3 separate regions of the Homo sapiens genome follow, and regions 1 and 2 are each linked to region 3. The links are contacts of gene promoters, found by promoter capture Hi-C in blood cells and fetal thymus (Javierre and others, 2016). All regions are on one chromosome and are shown on one strand. The core of a region is centred on a gene start or on the middle of the fragment in contact, and the rest is flanking DNA. Distances in the headings are between cores, read along the strand shown. Region 1 holds the start of CRPPA (CDP-L-ribitol pyrophosphorylase A). Region 2 overlaps TSPAN13 (tetraspanin 13). Region 3 holds the start of ARL4A (ARF like GTPase 4A).

Evidence for each region. Contacts are between HindIII fragments. The CHiCAGO score rates a contact against its expected background, and 5 or more counts as called.
Region 1: the fragment with the promoter of CRPPA here is called in contact with the fragment with the promoter of ARL4A in region 3 in 2 of 17 cell types (non-activated CD4 T cells and naive CD4 T cells); the score reaches 5.8 in non-activated CD4 T cells.
Region 2: a fragment that was not itself captured here is called in contact with the fragment with the promoter of ARL4A in region 3 in 1 of 17 cell types (total B cells); the score reaches 6.5 in total B cells.

Annotation. Positions count from the first base shown.
Region 1 is chr7:16,420,288-16,422,987 of GRCh38, reverse strand. It overlaps CRPPA (CDP-L-ribitol pyrophosphorylase A), which reads left to right and starts at 1,450. Exons shown (of 10, transcript NM_001101426.4): 1 at 1,450-1,922. The coding sequence starts at 1,666. LOC105375168 (a long non-coding RNA gene) reads right to left here and starts at 2,302. Exons shown (of 5, transcript XR_007060223.1): 1 at 2,006-2,302; 2 at 1-8. RefSeq lists silencers at 1,640-1,779, 1,800-1,859. The HindIII fragment of the contact is 1,514 bases long and covers 535-2,048 here.
Region 2 is chr7:16,755,778-16,758,477 of GRCh38, reverse strand. All of the region lies in intron 1 of TSPAN13 (tetraspanin 13), which reads right to left. Among named protein-coding and RNA genes, the nearest start is that of TSPAN13, 3.4 kb to the right of the region's middle. RefSeq lists a silencer at 1,840-2,134. The HindIII fragment of the contact is 758 bases long and covers 1,037-1,794 here.
Region 3 is chr7:12,686,222-12,688,921 of GRCh38, reverse strand. It overlaps ARL4A (ARF like GTPase 4A), which reads right to left and starts at 1,289. Exons shown (of 2, transcript NM_005738.5): 1 at 1,194-1,289; 2 at 1-756. The coding sequence starts at 667. The coding sequence ends at 65. It also overlaps the pseudogene LOC100505995. RefSeq lists silencers at 1,725-1,774, 1,975-2,254 and an enhancer at 1,244-1,780. The HindIII fragment of the contact is 3,768 bases long and covers 1-2,700 here.

The DNA of each region.
Region 1 (2,700 bases), core at 201-2,700, 3.7 Mb before region 3:
TGGTGAATCTGTAAGTAATAAAATGCGCCTGTTATTTCACATGTTTTGTGTGCTGCCTCCTCTGGCGTCTCACCTGCACACCAGAACCTAGCTTTCCTCTCTGGGCCAGGGCTCTCCTGAAGAGTGGCTGTTCTGGCTTATGGCCACTCGTAAGAGAGAGACCTCGAGATCAAATTAGAAAGGAACGATAGCAATAAAAATTACAAGGAAGTATATTATGGCACCCACTTTTCAGTTAAGAAACCAACTAGCACAGGACCTAAATGCTAATTATAATAAAAGTAACAAAAGTGAAAGAATGCCTTCAATAAGACTAAACAAAAAGGAAAAGCAGAAAACATATTTTTATATGCTCTCAAGAAAACAGGTAAAAATAAAAATTGTAATACTACAACTAGATAACATTTCCAGTGTTTAAAAAGATTATTTTTTATTAATCATAAGCCACTGGATTAAGACTGAATTACTGATGATTATACACTTTAATGATCATTAATCTATTTAATCAGCAATTCATTCAATACATATTAAGCTTGTGTTACATTCCAGGAGCTGGGCACACACACACAACCCAAGCCAAAAGAAAAATGTTGCTGCTTGCATGGAGTTTACATTCCAGGGACCTAATACAATAGTGCTCTCCTCCAAATTCTCACTATACTTTCATGGTAAACCTCACCAGCAACAAGAGTACTAAATAAGGTAAGATATGCTTTAGGCCTGGAATTCTTCAACTTTGGCCTACTTCTGTATGAGGGCCTTAAGGCTCCTCTGCCATTAGTTGTGCAATCTTACATAAATTAACCATTTTAACGTCTTTTCCCCTTTGTAAAAAGGGAAATGGCAATAGTTGAGTTCTTCTGGGGACTAAATGACATAAGGTGTATCGATTGTTCAGCAATTAGTATTGCTTTGACCCTATGGTTCCAAAACATGCCTGCTCATCAGAATCACCCGAGGATCTTTAAAAACATTCCAAAGTCCGGTGCTCACCAGACCAATTAAATCCCAATCTCTGAGCGTGTCAGGACACGCTCCCCAGGTGGTTCCAAAGTGCAGACAAGTTTGAGAGCCACCACAGTTTGGATTATTGATGTGCCACAATAACACTTGCTAATCCATCTGTCTTTACCCCAGGTGGAACCAGGAAGCCTCCAGAGCTTAATGGAATTCAGATAATCGAGGTGCATACGCACCCTACGTCCCATCCTGTGACTTGAATCCCAATCTCTTCCGAAATTTTAAAGCAGGGAGGGATGGGACAGAGGCCTGACCTCTCCTGCATACTCATGGCCCTTGAGTATCTGCGATCTTTAGATATGTAGGGCGTTCTGACATTTCCACTTGCGGCGACAGCTGGGCCTGCCCGGGGGAAGCGCAGAGCGGGCAAGTCAGCCCTCCCGCAGGCGCTGGGACCGGGTGCGGAGGCCGCAGCCGAGCCGCGAGGGCAGATCGGCAGCCTCAGCTGCTGCCGTAGCTGTCGGGATCGTCCCCTGCGGGGCAGCAACAGCGGGGCTCCGACGGCTGAGGGGGGCGCCTTCTGCTTGCGCGCTCTGCGTCCCTCTCCGTGGTCTGCCCTTCGCCCCGCGACCCCGGCCGAGGGTGGGAGCAGCGCGGGGTCGCATCGGCCCGAGGCTAGCGGGGCTCGCCGTTCCGCCCGCAGCCATGGAGGCCGGGCCGCCGGGCAGCGCCAGGCCGGCGGAGCCGGGTCCTTGCCTGAGTGGTCAGCGCGGCGCGGACCACACGGCTTCCGCCTCCCTGCAGAGCGTGGCCGGGACCGAGCCCGGGCGCCACCCGCAAGCCGTGGCAGCTGTGTTGCCTGCCGGGGGGTGCGGGGAGAGGATGGGGGTCCCCACCCCGAAGCAATTCTGCCCCATCCTGGAGAGGCCGCTCATCAGCTACACCCTACAGGCCCTGGAGAGGTAATGCGGCGCCGGGCGCGCCCCGCGGTTCCCTGGGGCCCGGCCTCCCGCTCCCCGCCCTGCCGCTGCTCTAGCGCTAGCACCTTCACTTGGGGGACTGCCGGGCCGCGCTCAGTTATTCAAGCTTGAGCTCTGTTCCCTCCCGCATTTCAGAGATGGGAAGTTCTGGCCTTTAACAGATGGGCACGAAAGCTGCAGCTCCCCCACAGAGCCCTTTACGTCCCCAAGCAGATGAGGTTGTGGGGAAGGCCCGTCGTGTGGCGCCGATTAGAGAGTGCATGGGTTGGGACTAGGCGATTTGGGGTTCTAGCTGTGGGGCCTGAGGAGAAGCTGTGCGGATAGTCTCGCGGTCCTGGGGCTCTGCCTCCGCGCATGCGTGGATTGAGTTGTACGTGCACACTGAAGTTTCCAGGGCGTGTGTTCGTTTTTTTCATTCATTTACTGAGCACCTTCTGTGAGACAGGCTGCGCTAATTACTAGGTGCTGCAGGAGGGGAGAGGAGCAGAATTTAATAACCTTTCAATGGTGGAAAGGGCTTTAAGCCTGAATTTGAGGTCATACCCCCTTTATCTTAGAAAGGGCACTGAAGTTAACTAGTTGGGGAAATGAAGGAGACAGGGAATGGGATAAGGAGGACTAGGGGAACAGTCGTGAGGAGCTGAGGAAGTGAAATGAAGGGGTATGTTATAATATTAACTTACTTTGCTTTTAGCACTGAGTAATGAGGTGGAGCTTGGGGCGAGGGTGCAGGGGTGGGAAGCAGCGGCATTACAAATAT
Region 2 (2,700 bases), core at 166-2,665, 4.1 Mb before region 3:
CTTAATTTTATTTCTATTATACATCTAAAGCATTTATATACTATCTGATTTTATCCTTACACAGCTTCATGAGGGGACGACTGAAAAATATCATCACCAATTTATATATGAAGAAACTGAAACTCAAAGTAAGCTGTTTGTCTAGTAACAGAGTTGGAAAAGTTTCAGTTTTCTTCATAAATCCAGTGATCTTTCTTCCCATAATTTGTATGGACATATGTTTTTTATCTAACAGATTAAAAACAGAATTTTCTTCCCATAAATTGTATGGTCGTATTTTTTTATCTAACAGATATGGCACACTTTATCTACTATAAAATGCATCCCAGGCCGGGAGCATTTTATAGTAGATAAAGTGCTCATGCTTGTAATCCCAGCACTTTGGGAGACCGAGGCGGGTGGATCGCCTGAGGTCAGGAGTTCAAGACCAGCCTGGCCAACACGGCGAAACCCCGTCTCTACTAAAAATACAAAAAATAAGCTGGACATGGTGGCGGGCACCTGTAATCCCAACTACTCAGGAGGCTGAGGCAGGAGAATCGCTTGAACCCAGGAGGCGGAGGTTGCAGTGAGCCAAGATCGCGCCATTGCACTCCAGCCTGGGCAACGAGAGTGAAACTCCATCTCAAAAATACAAATAGAAACAATAAAATGCATCCCAACTTCAGAGGTGATAAAAATATAAATTAAGGTGTTTATGAAGTAATTCAGTATAATTTTTATGCTGCATGAGAATTTTTCTCAAAACAACCAAAAGTATAAGGAAAAAGAATCACGAAAAAGAGAAAGAAACAAACATGGAAAGATGTTATAAGAATGAACACACACAGGAGAAACAAAACTGCAACTTCTGAAATTTCCCTCCTGATTTTAAAACTGGCAGGGCAACTCTTAAAAAGTCCCAGTAAATATATGTTTGGTCATATTTTTCAGTTTGGTTCTATTTAACAAAGTCAGCTACCTTTTTTTTGGTTGTTTGTTTTTAATAGAGCTTTCTTCTCTGGTTAAGAAGCACAAGGAGACACATTATAAAGCTTCAAAATATTACGTATTTTAATACAAATTTTATTTCATATTTTCTAAAATTTCCCACAAATCACTAAGCATAATTTTCAAAAGTTTTTTTCACTACTTGTCAAAATCTTTTCAGCCTAAAATATTCCTATAAACTATTAAAAATAAGTCATTTTCCCAAATCATTTTCATTTTTATGTATATCCTAAATGGTATCAAAAAGACCCACACACTATTTCTACATTTCCTTGATTCAATCACACCTCCTTTATTCCCCCAACTTCTCTAACCCACAAATATCTGCCACAGTCCTAAATTTTATGGTACCTAAAGTCAGTATATTCCTTATACGCCATTTAATTTTCCCATTCCATGTCTCTCATCTAGATCCTGTCTTCACAATGCATTTGCCTTTATAGGTATTTATTATTTCCCACAGTTCTCAAAAGAGTGCACACAGTAGACAAAAGTTTATTGACTGAATACAATTCCTGAAAACATATGTATAAAAGGTAGTAAATAAAAAAGAGCCTTCATAAAAGCACATTGATTTTTACGCCCTGTTTGGTTTGCTGCTGTATTTCCAAACTGAGAACAGAGCCTGGCACACAGTAGGCACTCAATAATTGTTGAATGAAGAAACTGAAAGTTTCTTTAAATGCAGGAAGCTCTGAGGCAAGTCATTCTCTTAGAATACTGTGAAGGTGAATTCAGGAATGTAGCTTCCCCCTTTTCTTCTATATTTACAAACTGTTAACACATACTACACTAATTTAAGCTTGTCCAGTACTGGCGATCCTATTAACTAAAATAATCAAGCCATAAACAACAAGAAAAATCAACTGTTAACATTTTGCCTAGTGATCAAATTTCCTTGTTTGGGACTTCCAACTTGTTTTTAGTGACATGCTTTCTGAGCTGATCATGAATGTGGCACGAATCTCAGGCTCATCAGCAAGCCACCAGAGCATGTGGACAGTTCAGCTGATACAGTCCTAAGTTCCTCAGTAAAATGCTTCAACACAGCAATGATGATGTTTCAGGCATCTGCCGTTCCCATATGCAATCCTGGTTTAACCAACACTTTTAGAAATGACCTCAAATGTAATCCTGTAGCGTTGAGCACATTTTAGAGGCAGTGACCAGGGTGGGATTAGAACCTACAAAGAATGTTTCTATTCATGACTTATAGAGAAATGTCTCCCAAGTCTTCATGCTCAATCCCATCCCCAACTGCCTCACATTTTTTTCATCTTAAAATGTTGAGAAAGAGATCAGGGGAGAAATAGAAGCTAAATAATGGCCATGGCACATTTTCAGCATCTATCTAAGACTTGATCCAACTTTTACCTGTCACTTGCCTCCACTTTAAACTGCTGCAGTTATTTAAGCCTATTTACAATGTAAAAGAAGCAAGCAGCCACTAATTCATTTTAAGAAATGTCCCTTTGTCTAAAAAGTCTATGATTTAAAAGGGCTAGCCATTTTTATTGTCCCGTGAATTTCCAATTCATTAAGTTTTACTGCATAGCTATTAAAATCAATAGAACACACACTTTGAAGGTCAATAATTTAGAATAGATATTAAATAGTCTTAATATGTCCCTTTAGAATCACCTTTCTTTCGCCTCACTTTCCTGATATACTCTAAATACAACTAAAAATGATGTCTAGAAAGCAAGGAAC
Region 3 (2,700 bases), core at 40-2,539:
CTTCTATTTGTCAAAATCAGACCAGAGAAAACCTACTCCACACAGATATAATAGGTATTGATATTCATCTTTTCTTTTTCTGTTGCCGCAACATTTTTCTTCTTTTAATGATCATATCATGTAGTTTCTCAAGTCCTTCCTTTAGGCCATCTCCTATGATTGCACAGGTAGGCTGCAAATGCCAAGGAGTTGATGAGCTCAGTTCACCCATTGCTAACAATTTCTCAATTTCTGAAAGTGACAATGAGTTCCTCAAATCTTGTTTGTTAGCAACTATAAGTACAGGGACTCCCTGATTTTCTGATATCCTAGTTATTTTGTGAAGTTCAGTTTTGGCTTCTTCCATCCTTTCGACATCAACAGAGTCCACAACAAATACAATGCCATCTGTGCATCTGGTATATGACTTCCACAGTGGCCTTAATTTCTCCTGACCACCTACATCCCAGAAGTGAAAAGTGACTGTTTTAGAATTTCCCAAGGTTACCTTAATTTTCTCAGTGTTAAATCCTTTGGTAGGTACGGTATTTACAAATTCATTGAACTGCAGCCTGTATAAGACAGTTGTCTTTCCAGCACAGTCCAAACCCAGAATAACAATGTGGAAAGACTGAAATGAAGGCAGGTTGGACAGGATAGAAGTCTGGTCTGACAGCCCATTCCCCATTTCCAGGTGCAAATAAATGTCCCAAATTGAAATGCTTTTCTCTTCTTGGTTTACAACTTCTCTTGGTAGCTGATCCAGCTATAAGACTGCTGGGAGACGGAAGAAGGAATAAGTTATTCTCCCGAAATAATACATTAAAACAGGTTTGCTCTACTTTGCTAAAATAAACAACACGAAGAACTTACTATAACTTGCTGCGCTAAACAAACCAGACGAGATATGAAACGTACATGAAAACACACACAGTCCAAGACAAACGATGGAATAACAGTGATTGAAATTATCTGGTTTACTTAAATTGCAGTAATATGTACGTTTTTCTCCTGGGTCCCCAAACCTCAAAGACCTCATTCTGGAAAGAACCCAGTCACCAGTATCTGGTCTAAGTGGCCGTAACCACAAAGTGCCTATCTGGCAGAAAACTCATAGCAGATAGTCCTATCTTCGGAATCTAATTCCACATGCTTAACAGCATACCCAAGATCACTATTACCTCCTACCCCTTGCAAAATAACAACGTTCTCACCTCCCGATCTGGAGTCTGGGTCCAAATGAGAAAGCATTGGCAGGCGTTTCTACGCAGGGATAAGCACCCTTCCAGCTTAGCTCTCCAAGCAGCTCTGGCAGTTGCCGCACGAGAAACCTTGGACTCAGACTCCGACCACGCCCACTCCTCCCGGTCCACTCATGATCCCAAATCCCATTGGTCACCCGCATCAGGGAAGCCATGCAACTCCCGCCCCCGCTCCCTAATTGGTGAGGGTAACTGCCGCTCCCAGCGCGGCGGAGCTGAGCTCTCTCTCGGTCCACCGGCACCACCTGTTGCCCTTAAGTTAGAAAAGGCGGCGTTCCCAGAGGGAGCCGAGCAGCCGCTGCAGGTGAAGGGGAGCCTCGGGCGGTCAGGTCGCCGCCAGGCTGCCGGCTCCGTTCGGCCCGGCGCACCTGCAGCGCAGCCAGGGCGTCAAGCCAAGGCTCTCACATCCGGGGCCCGCAGTCACTGCCAACGCGTTAACCCTTTGTCCGCGGGCCCGAGGGTGCCGGCTGTTGCCGCGCGGGCCCCTGAGGCGCTAGAGATCCCACCTGGCGCGCCCGCCGGGATAAGCCCATCCTCCCCGAAGTGGGATCCCTTCACCCTGTCCCTCCGCACACGACCGGCTCTTCTCCCTCGGCAGGGCGTGGCCGCCCCGGCCGCCCACCCCGCCGCGGCTCACCTGACTAACCGTCCTTCCCTCTTCTTCATTCAGCGTCTCTCCCAGCCGCTGGGGAGGCGCGCTGATACCTGTTCCCTGGCACCAGGGAGGCGTGGGCGATGGCAGAGGACTGGGCGCCTGGCGGGCGCCGCGCGCCAGGCTGCCCTAACGGTGCTCGCCCGGCAGCTCCACGCGACAGTCCCCGCCCCCTGCCCGCGCGCCGCCCGGGCGCCGGCCTGTAGGGGGCGCGCAGGAGCCGCGTCTCCTAGCAACGCCAAAACAAGGTCGAGTTCGAATCGGCCTAGCGCTGGCTGCCCGCGAGGTCGGATGGGACTTCCGGCCTCACCCCTGAACGGTTGCTCCGGGTAGCTCTGTCTGCGGCGGCCCGCCAGCCTGGCACAGGCCCCGCCCGGCACCGCCTTCCCTCACGTCGTCTAGGGCGTCCGCGGGGCAGCAGCCACGTGATTCGCGGTTAGGGATTCCATAGTTCACGGGTTACGGCACACACGCGTTACGTATATATCGAGGTGACGTGGAAGTCCCCCAGTAGTTGACCTTAAACAGCCTGGGTTGACTGGCCTGGTAACTGCGCCTTCATTCGCTTTTTGTAGAGCAAATGAACGCGCTGTCTCACGTGTTTCTAGCAGCATCCCGGGGAACTGGCCACAGATAGAAATATTCCAGTTTGACACATAAGGAAATACACTCTGAAAGATGAAAGGGATGTTTCTTTTTTTCTTTTCTTTCAAATTGCTCACACAATTTTAATTGCAATAGATATAATTTCCAATATACCATTCAACTACACCATTTGTATGTGCTGGAGTGAGACAGGAGTATTTT